Linked DNA regions of Homo sapiens: all the other regions are linked to region 3. Evidence: promoter capture Hi-C in 16 types of primary human blood cells and fetal thymus (Javierre and others, 2016). All regions are on one chromosome and are shown on one strand. The core of a region is centred on a gene start or on the middle of the fragment in contact, and the rest is flanking DNA. Distances in the headings are between cores, read along the strand shown.

Region 1 (3,353 bases), core at 177-2,676, 5.9 Mb before region 3:
AGAAACGAGAGTCTCAATGATTACCTTGAAAAGATCACAAGGAAAATGAAACAAACATGAATTAAGTACCTGTAAGATAGTTTGCTGGTTACTTTTACATATATGATAAATGATGGATCAGGGACTTCAACCTAGATCACAAAATCACCACCACACTGCCCTGCTTCTGTCATGGGAAACACACTTTGATAATTTCTTCATTCTTTCTCCACTCCCTGGACTTGAAGCCCGAGAAGTAATCCATCCGCAAATATTGAACACTTTTTATATTCATATATGAAACGCACAGTACACAGTTTTTAAAAACTGGTCTCTGTTGTCAAGGAACTTTTGAGCCATTCAGAGAGACAACACTTAAAACACACACACACACACACACACACACAAACTGAGGGAAGTATGAAGTGACCAAATAATGGTATACAAAGATGATCTCATTTGATCCCTATTACCACTCTTTGAGGAGGTACTATTATTATTGCTCTTTTATAGAGAAGAAAAGGTAGCTCTGTAGGCAGTAAGCAAGTCTCAAGGTTACTCAAGCAGGAAAGGGCAAAACAGATTCAAATCCAAGTTCTGACTCCTAAGACTTTCTCTAACTATATATGGTAAGACAAACCCAGAAACTCCAGTTCCCTAAGCAAGTAATAGACCCCATTTGGCTAGGAGGGCTGGATAAATACTGAGAAAGGGGGAAGATGAAGCCGAAAAGGTAGGCTAGGGCCTAATGTAACTCACGGACTTCAGAATGCAGACTGTAGGAATCCACTAAAGGTTTCTTATTAAGGCAGAAATTACTGCAGTCTTAACTTGACATAGTAGTTTCTCAACTTGGTAGAAGCAGACTATACAAAAAGTAACTTTACAGTTGGCTACGTGACTTAGACAAATTACTCTCTCTGACCTCAACTCTTACAGGTAATTGAGAGGAGAATTCTATATTTGGACAATCGCCGTGATTAAACGAGTGTATGAAAGGCGTCTGAAGCTAGGGGGCGCTAGATAAACACTGATTTCCCCTTTAGGGAAAAAGAATGCAGGCTTTTTGTTTACATAGAGTTGGCAGGCATGCGTTATCCAGCAAGGCCGGAACGGAAGACACTCTCAGCCTCAGCTGCAACCACATCTGGGTATGCAGAAACCTTCTAAGATCCCAGCGTTTCCAGGGAGATGCTCCATTTCCCCTCACTTCTCCGGACCTGTCGCTAGACCATGAAGACCTGACTGCCCTCTAATAAAGTGCCTAGCCAGCACTCTTAGACCGCCCAACCTTCCCAGCTCTTCCTTCCGAGGCGGCTACTCGATGACATCACATCCACTTCCGCTTCCGAAGGCGGCCTCTTTTCATTCCTCGGGACCGCTCTAGGCTGCCACCACGCCGGCTGGCCCCAAAAACTCGATGGTTGTTGGGCGGGGTCGTGACGTCCTTGGCGTGGCTGCAGGGGAGGCCGCGGCGGGGAAAATGGCGGACGGGAAGGCGGGAGACGAGAAGCCTGAAAAGTCGCAGCGAGCTGGAGCCGCCGGAGGTGAACACAACCCCAGCGTCGTGGGCAGCGTGGGATGCTCCGGGCCTTTCTTTGAGCTCCCAGGGTGGGGGGAGTGGGGTGGGGCGAGAATGGGCGGATCTGGACCTCACCCGGCCAGGTGTTGGGCCCAGACCTGCCTCGGGCACGCCCGATGCGGCCCTCTGGGCTCCGGGCCTACATCGCCTCCTTGCCTGGGGAGAGCCGGCCACTGTTCGTCACCTCCTGGCCCCAGCGGAGGCCCTGATTCCGAGGAGAAGGGAGATGGGCGCCAGAAAGGGAGACCGAACTCGGGGTGGGACCAGGAGCGGCGGTGCAGGAGCCGCTACCGCCACACCGGAGACGCACATCACACAAAACACACACACCGGAGACGCTCATGAGACATAACATACACACAGTGCGAGCCACCGAGTAGTTGCCGCGGGAACTGGCCGCAGGCTGAGTTTCTGACGGTGCCGGCCTCTCAGTTACACGCAGGAGTTAATTACGCTTGCTGCTCCCTTTTCACTGAGGAGGTGGACAACTCCGGCCTGCTCTCTTTCCTTTACTTCCAAGTTTAATATTGACCCTGTGACAGGATGGGCCGAGGTGATGGAGGGGAAGAGGAATGCCTTTGCCTGCCCTCTGGTTTAAGCTGCGGGGTCTAGGGCTAAGGTTTGGTTGCTTTTCTTTGAAGTATCTCCCTTAGGCTGTTGCCAGCTGACCGCTTGCCAGATACTTAGGCGACTAAATAGTCTAGCGTGACTCTTCCTGTATTTTGTTACGACGTTAAACTCAGGTTACAGCTATCCTTATTCTGTCCATTCCACTCCCTAAATTCGGGTCTTGTGCGTGAAGGAAAAGAAACGTAATCTCTCCAGCTCCCTCTTTGCACATAACAAGACAAGTGACTTAACACGTGCGAGCTGTTTAAAATGTTTTTAGAACATTTTAAACATTATTCTCTATTCTGACCACCTTAGTTATCATTCCCGAAATTATTTAATATGAGAAAATAGAAACGATTAATAGCATATGAAGGCCACTAGTAGACCTACTAACATAATGTTTCATGTTAATTGCCTTGGGAACAAAAATTATTGAAAAGATTAAGTGTAATGTTAATTACTTTGGACCCAGGATTTCCTTTTTAAAAAACACGTACAATTCTGTTAGTTAAGCTGGAACTCCATCTCTCTCTTCCCTCCCCACCCCCTGTCTTTTTTTTTTTTTATAACTAGTAAAATACCTTATGAAAGAACAATTTAAATTTAAACCATCTACTACTTTCTCACTAGGGAATTTTTTTTCCCAAAAAAATTGTATTGGAAATTGTGGGATAAAATTACATAAAAGTTTAAAAGTAGTTTGAGGAAAAGCAAAAAATTTTAGACGTAGTTTGAGGAAAAGCCTAAAGAATCATGTGTTGATTTTAAGGCCATCTCGTTAACTGTCTTGACCGAGGGTAGCAGACGTGTTTAATGTGCTGTCAAAATGTACCTTGAGTGTCATTATAAATCCACTGTATAATTTACCTGCCATTCTTTCAGTTGAGGGTTATTAGTTCTATAGTATGAATATTGATGTTTCCATTTTAGCATGTGGGGAGAAGTAGTAGAGAATTACTTTGCTAATTGGTATCAGAAAAATTATTATGGTCTTTTTCTTGGTAACTTAGAGTAAGTAAATATCCCTTAACTTCTACATAATTTGTCTCCTTGCCGTTACAAGAAAGTAGTGCTGTTAAGTTTAAGCCATTTTTGAATGTCAGATATTTTTAATGAAATTGTGCATAGGAATCATAGTTAAAATATGTCATACCATGGATATTGCAAAATTGGTAATTTT
Region 2 (3,368 bases), core at 637-3,136, 5.0 Mb after region 3:
AGTTTGGTGAGCAAGTATGATGGACTCCTGAAAACATAATTCTACATCATACATTTTATATTTCATTTGGGCAGTCTCTTGCTCCTCTCTCCCGGAAACTAAAAAGTTGTACAATGGTGTATTATTAAAATACTGTATACCTAGGTAGATATGATATTCTGAAAAGTTAACATAATTATGTAAAAGCATTTGATTCAAATGTGAAAATTATTTTCCAATCTTAGTTTGACTGAATAATCTTAAAATGACTTTCACAGTAAACAAATGTAAGCAAAGCAACAGTTGAAATTCTCATTTATAATCGCTGGTTTATTTCTTACTTGGCCAATAAGTTATTCTTTTAAAAGGAGCTTTACAAAAACGTATTTTAAAAAGTATAGACCTAGTACTTCCCTTTGTCATGGAAAGGGAGCAAAGCAAAACTCTCCACTATTCTTAGCATATTAAGGTATTTCACCCCCACACTGAGATTGGTACATTCTAACTGAAAGCTTAAAAACAACTAGAAAAAAAAAACAAAAACTAAGCAAGAACTTCCCATTAATTTACTATTCTTGCTCACTTTTCAGAAAGCAAAAATGAAGTTACAACAAAACACTCCAAAAGAGTTATAAAAGAAAAGCTTGAAGGCAGTTGTAGAAATTTACCTTTAAAAAAAAAATCAGTCACTACTGTAACAGCTAATGTGTCACAATTTTTTACTTTAAAAATGCTGTACTGTTGCCAATATATTTTTAAAAATTATACAGCCAGGAAGGTCAAACCGTGCCTTGTTATCACTAATAACCAGCTACGGCTATCTGAAAAGCTTGGGAAAAAGGTTTTGCTCGTTAGATGGGTTCAAGGTTACTGAATGAGATAATGTTGCCAATTTCACCTCCTTCCTCTGAAATCTAAACGAGTTGGGATCGCAGTCACAACTTCCCCACTACAGCGGACTTTCATGAAACTTAAAGGAAAAGTGACCTCACCTCAGGTCTCTTTTGACCTCTGTGTGTCAAACACTAAATTCATTTTTTAAAGAGAAGCAAAATCCTTGCTTAAAAAGGCTAAAAGACTTCCAGTGTTTGGATTTAACGTTCTTCAATCTACTCAGCCTCCGAACACCCTTCCAACCCGACGTACCCGACCGCGCAGAGTTATGACGGGAGAAGGCAGGAACACGCAGAGCGTCGCTCCAAGTTTACCCCTGAGGAGTCAGAAAGCCCTAACGAACAGCCGGTTAAGACTACGGGTGGGGGCTGCACACTTCCCTGTGTCTCGAGCCCTACTGCCTTCCTACACCTTGCCCCGCCGGAGAAAGCGGGGACTCCTGCGGCGCCTGGTCCCTGAAAAGTCGAGCATGTGCCTGACAGCTCCCGGCAACCCTGGCCTGGCTTACCTTGAGGACCGGGGTCAGGTACTCAGCCACTTCCAGTGCCTTTCCCTTCACAGTATTAATCACATTCTGCATCCTGGGGCCGGAGTAGCGGCCGGCCCCGCGACGGGATGGAAAGTGCAGCCGTGTCAGGGGCCAGGGAGTCAGAAAATGTCCTCGCTGCCACCGACTCGCATCAGCACCCGGCTGGCAGCACCCGAGGGGACGGGACGCGACGCGACGGGACGGGCGGGACGAGGGGGCGGGGCGGCAGGCACAGCGCGCGAAGACGGGGTGCGCGATCCTCGCACCCCAGGCAGCCCGCGACGGACCGGACCCAGCTGTCACCCAGCCGCGAGGGAGGGCAGCGGGGCCGAAGGGAGACCTGAGGTGAGAAGCGGACGCACACGCACCCCTCGCCCTCTGCGAGCTGTCTGTCCTCGCTTTGCTTCACTCGCGCCCCTTCCGGCTTCCCTTCCTTCTCACTCTCTTGCCGTAGCTGCGCCGCCACCGGGGCCTCACGTGACACTAGACTCTCCCGGCACGTGACGTGAGAAAGGGGCCGGGCTGGGGCGGGATAAGCCGCTTCTCCCCTCCTTCCGGAAGCGTAACACTGAACGTGCCTGCGCAATGGGTGTCGGGTCCGCTTTTTCCCAATCCGGACGTAATCGTGGTTTTTGTTCTGCAATAGGCGGCTTAGAGGGAGGGGCTTTTTCGCCTATACCTACTGTAGCTTCTCCACGTATGGACCCTAAAGGCTACTGCTGCTACTACGGGGCTAGACAGTTACTGTCTCAGCTCTAGGATGTGCGTTCTTCCACTAGAAGCTCTTCTGAGGGAGGTAACCGCGCCCCGCGGGCAAGGAATTGCGCCTGCGTCTGAGGGGAGGGTGCGCCAGTGAAGAGCCCTACTGCGCATGTGTGACTAGAAGGGTAGTCCCTGACTGTGAAGGGAAATCTGGCCCCCTCCTGTCGGGGAGGCGTCCTGTAGGCGTGCGCCCAATGGGGCTGTCAGTATTGGCATTTCTCCCCACTCCCCGCAGGCTCTATGCGCTATTCCTACAGTACGCTGGGAGGCTTTGGGCAAGTTACTTACCCAACCTGGGGTTTAGTGTCCTCAGCCTATCAAAAGAGGGCCTTAGATTCATTGATTTCTACGATCTCCTCCATTTCAAACACTAACTAGTTCAGTAAAACTTTACAGCAGTGTTTCAGATATTTCCATTTTGGTCGTTATTGTAATGAAGTCTGTCCTAATAAGCTTTTTCCTCCGAGGGAAAAGAGGAGGAAAATACAATTCTGAAAGCCTTATCTTACAGCAAAATTATTTACTAATAAGAGTAAAAGCGAGGCCGGGCGCGGTGGCTCACGCCTGTAATCCCAGCACTTTGGGAGGCAGAGGCGGGCGGATCACAGTCAGGAGTTCGAGACCAGCCTGGCCAACATAGTGAAACCCCGTCTCTACTAAAAATACAAAAATTAGCCGGGCGTGGTGGCGGGCGCTTGTAGTCCCAGCTATTCTGGAGGCTGACGCAGGAGAATCGCTTGAGTCCGGTAGGTAGGGGTTGCAGTGAGCCAAGACCGCGCCGTTGCACTCCAGCCTGGGTGACAGAGCGAGACTCCGTCTCAAAATACATAAATAAATAAAATTTAAAAATAAAATTCAAAATTGCTTTGAAGAATTCTTTTCTGCTGTTGCAAAGTGTCATTTGCTCACCTGCTACCTTTGTCAGCAGGTCTAATCTGGTTCTACGTTTTCTGTCTCCAGAGTACTCCCTCTTATCAGATTTTCACTTTCCTTTTGTCATAGTTTCTTTATGCCTCAACTTTCTTGGTGCTGATATAGTCATAGCCAAAATTTTTTAAAAATTCCTTTTTTGTCCTCACGATCAATGGTATTTGCGTTTAGGGTCTGCCAACAAGGTCGTTCATGAAAGTGTTTTTCTCTTTAAGGTAATTAAAAAACAGTGGAATGGAAAAACAGTGCTGTAGTCATCCTGTAATATGCTCCT
Region 3 (3,104 bases), core at 255-2,754:
TATATACTTTTCCTTTTAAAAATGATTTTTCTAAAAAAATAAACATCACATTTCTAAATACCACTTTGTTTTCTGAACTTTTTAAACTTTTCTGATTTTGTTTCTCTTTCTCCCTCTTACACAGGAGTGCTCACATGCACACATACACTCTTTTAACAACTTTATGGATGCGAGAGAAAAACCTTAAGACAGCATCAAGGAAATAAAAGGGGAACTGAAATAAGTTGCCCTAGTTGGGTTTTCTTTAAGTTTTAAAGCTACTTACCTAGGCCATAAAATCGTAGTGTTTATGTAATCTCCAAAATGTTTGTATTTGAGAATAATTCACCAACTCTTAAAACGGAAGGAACCCTAAGAAAACATCTAGGCCTAAGATAATGCCTGACACATAGTAGATGCTGAATAAACATTTAATTGAGGGAATCTGGAAAAGCTTCTTATTTTAATCTTAAAAATCAAAACCAAGTCTGAGCATTGGAGAGGTTAAGTAACTTGCTCAAGATTGCTCAGCTGGTTAAAGAGTTTAATCTACAATTTATTCCTTCTAATTTCCAGCTTTGACTTCTTTCCACCAACCTGTTGACTTATGTGTATTGAACTGTCTCATATAATCTTCTGAAGTTGCATTGTTGAAAAACAATCAGAAAGACCAGTCCTGAGGTTCATCATCTCCAAAAGTCATGCAACATATGATGTTCACATGAGATGTGAAATATGTAAAGAGTCATATATTTTTATATATAATATGCAAAATATAAATCATGTATATATTGAATCAAAGGTCTGTTTTGAAGGCTAAGGGTCAATAGCCAATCTTCCATGACTTATTTTACCTAACAGCACAGTTTGCATGTCCACACAGGTGATGGCAGTCCACTGACCAGTTAAAAGTTGTTTGGCTATTTCAGCAAAATGTTTATCTTTGTGTGTTGTTATATTGATTTTTTTGAATCTACCTACGAATGAGGCACTAACAACCTCAATGCATTAGAGTCCTGATAAACTTATCTTGCACTATTTTGGCCTATGTGATAGCTAACCCATTGACAAAAGAAATCCAAGGTGATAAAAGCCTTTCTTGGCCACTTGTTAGCCGGGTCAGGCTGTAAAATCGTAACACAATGCAGGCCTCTTCCATGGGGCACCAAAAGGCAGCGATGAAAAACCCCCCTCACTTCCATATCCAGTGGAGTTGTAGTTTATTACCATAACCCTCCCAAGTCAAAAGGACACCAGTTTCAAGCCTTGCAACTTGGTGCAGACAGGGGTTTTCCCCTTTACCCCACTCTGCTGGGCCTCTTTACCTGTCCTCTCCTACTGTCTACAGGTCCCGAACATTAGAAAATAGAAAATGTGATGATCTTTGTGTGTCTCTGTAAAATGTGTGTATGTGTGCGTGTGTTTGGGTGTAACGGGCCTCTTGTTTGGCTGCGCGGCCTGTCCGTCACTGCGCGGGCCAATGGCAGGCTGCCTTATATAAAATGAGTGTTTTCAGTCTCTCCGGGTTGCATGTACTGTATGTGGAGCAGTGTACAGTGAAGCGGAGGCAGAGCGGCTCCGCGAGCTTCTCTCCACTTTCCCATAGAGAAACCCTGACTGGCCGCTGAGGGCTAGCTACACACACGCCCTCACGCCCGGCGAGCCCGCGAGGTAGGCGCCCCCCATCCCCAGCCCTCCCTGGGCGCACTCCCCTCACTTTCTGTTTTCCTACTCACTTGCGAGCCGCCGGGCTGCAGCCCCAAGGACTCCGCGGCAGGAGCAGCGGCGGCGGCGGCGGCGGCGGCGGCGGCAGCCGGTAGGGTGGACTTGAGGAAGACGGAGGGAACCCCGCGCGTCCGGAGCCGCCGCCAGCCGGCCCGCTCCCTGGGCACTTTCCCCCTCCGCCAAAACTTTGGGTCGGGAGAGGTCGGGGGCGAGGGTCGCGGCGGCCGCGCCGGCTGGGGCCGGGGGGCGGGGGGCGCTGAGGCAGTGCCCTGCGAGCGGGAGGCTGGGGGCCGGGCTGGGGAGTAGTAGGCCAGCCGGTGCCAGGCTGCGTTTGCAACCAGCACCTCTCGGCACACAGGCAGCGCCGCCTGAGAGGGGCACGGGCGCCGGGGCGCGGGCTGGAGCGGCCCCAGGAAAACAACAACAGAGCCCTCACGCCGGCGGGCGGCTCGTGGCCGCCCGGGGAGCCCCAAACTTCATCTCGGCGAAAGTACGTGGAGCCCTGCCTGGTCTCGGCTGCCGGGGAGGTGGGGCCTGGGGAGCAGGGGCAGTGGAGGAAGGTACGAGGAGCCAGCCTTCGGTGGATTTATTGAACGTTTCGTCTGCGTTGGTGACCGGGAACAGCAGCCCAGTTGCTCGTTCATCTGGAGAGTTGGGATTTGGGTGTTCCGGCCCCGCAGATCAGTGCCCTCTCACCCCCCACCCCTACCCAAATGCGCGGCGAGTAGAGAAAGTGCTGTTTTAGTGCCAGAGTAGCCTGGAGGAAGAATAGGGGGAGAGGGGGAAGAGGGCGAGGGAGAAGGGGAGAGAGAAGAGGGAGGGAAGGGGGGGGAGAGAGGGAGACAGAGAGAGAGGGAGAGAGAGAACGGGAGGGAAGAGAGGAGGGGGAAGAGGAGGAGGGAGGCTGTGTCAGGATTTTGCTTGAATGTGGGATTATGTTGTGTCAATAAGTTTAAGGTGGAGAGAGCGAGGCTGAGGGTGGTGGTGGAGGGGAGGAGGAAGGCCTTGGCCGTTTAAAGTCTTATTTCTGAAGGTAAGTTACGGCTTTGCCTGGTCGCGATGACAGAAAACTTGCAGATCCTTTATCCGGGGATGGGGTCGATGCCTCTAGAAAGAGCTCCCTAGCCCTCTTAAGCCACACTCGTGTTACACTGTTATTTGCTGCGATCCGGGTCGCTAGTAAATTACAGAAATCAGACTCGAGGTTTCTTTTCCTCCTCCACCTCGTCTCGCTCACTCACCCTCTGAAATTTATTATCATATTTTATTTATTTTTTGGTATTGTATGAAACTTAACATAACTGAGACCGAACCCGAGTCCTGTAATTTACAAGGACCCTGAATCCCAGAATCTGGAACACGTTTATGTGTGAAATAGCCGCGATCATTTCTGCTAAATG

The links. The method cuts DNA at HindIII sites, captures the fragments that hold promoters and counts their contacts. A CHiCAGO score of 5 or more calls a contact.
Region 1: the fragment with the promoter of PCNP here is called in contact with the fragment with the promoter of BBX in region 3 in 4 of 17 cell types (naive CD8 T cells, activated CD4 T cells, total B cells and 1 more); the score reaches 8.1 in naive CD8 T cells.
Region 2: a contact is called between the fragment with the promoter of ATG3 here and the fragment with the promoter of BBX in region 3, in 1 of 17 cell types (naive CD4 T cells). The highest score is 6.8, in naive CD4 T cells.

What each region holds. Positions count from the first base shown.
Region 1 is chr3:101,572,754-101,576,106 of GRCh38, forward strand. PCNP (PEST proteolytic signal containing nuclear protein) reads left to right here and starts at 1,427. Exons shown (of 5, transcript NM_020357.3): 1 at 1,427-1,526. The coding sequence starts at 1,463. RefSeq lists enhancers at 638-1,583, 1,027-1,296, 1,397-1,526, 1,607-1,766, 1,787-1,946. The HindIII fragment of the contact is 5,212 bases long and covers 1-3,353 here.
Region 2 is chr3:112,560,076-112,563,443 of GRCh38, forward strand. ATG3 (autophagy related 3) reads right to left here and starts at 1,887. Exons shown (of 12, transcript NM_022488.5): 1 at 1,382-1,887. The coding sequence starts at 1,453. It overlaps SLC35A5 (solute carrier family 35 member A5), which reads left to right and starts at 1,970. Exons shown (of 7, transcript NM_017945.5): 1 at 1,970-2,198; 2 at 3,310-3,368. The coding sequence starts at 3,329. RefSeq lists enhancers at 649-1,458, 1,459-2,268. The HindIII fragment of the contact is 1,809 bases long and covers 807-2,615 here.
Region 3 is chr3:107,521,458-107,524,561 of GRCh38, forward strand. BBX (BBX high mobility group box domain containing) reads left to right here and starts at 1,505. Exons shown (of 18, transcript NM_001142568.3): 1 at 1,505-1,650. RefSeq lists an enhancer at 1,122-1,171 and silencers at 1,572-1,881, 1,912-2,001, 2,112-2,181. The HindIII fragment of the contact is 5,936 bases long and covers 432-3,104 here.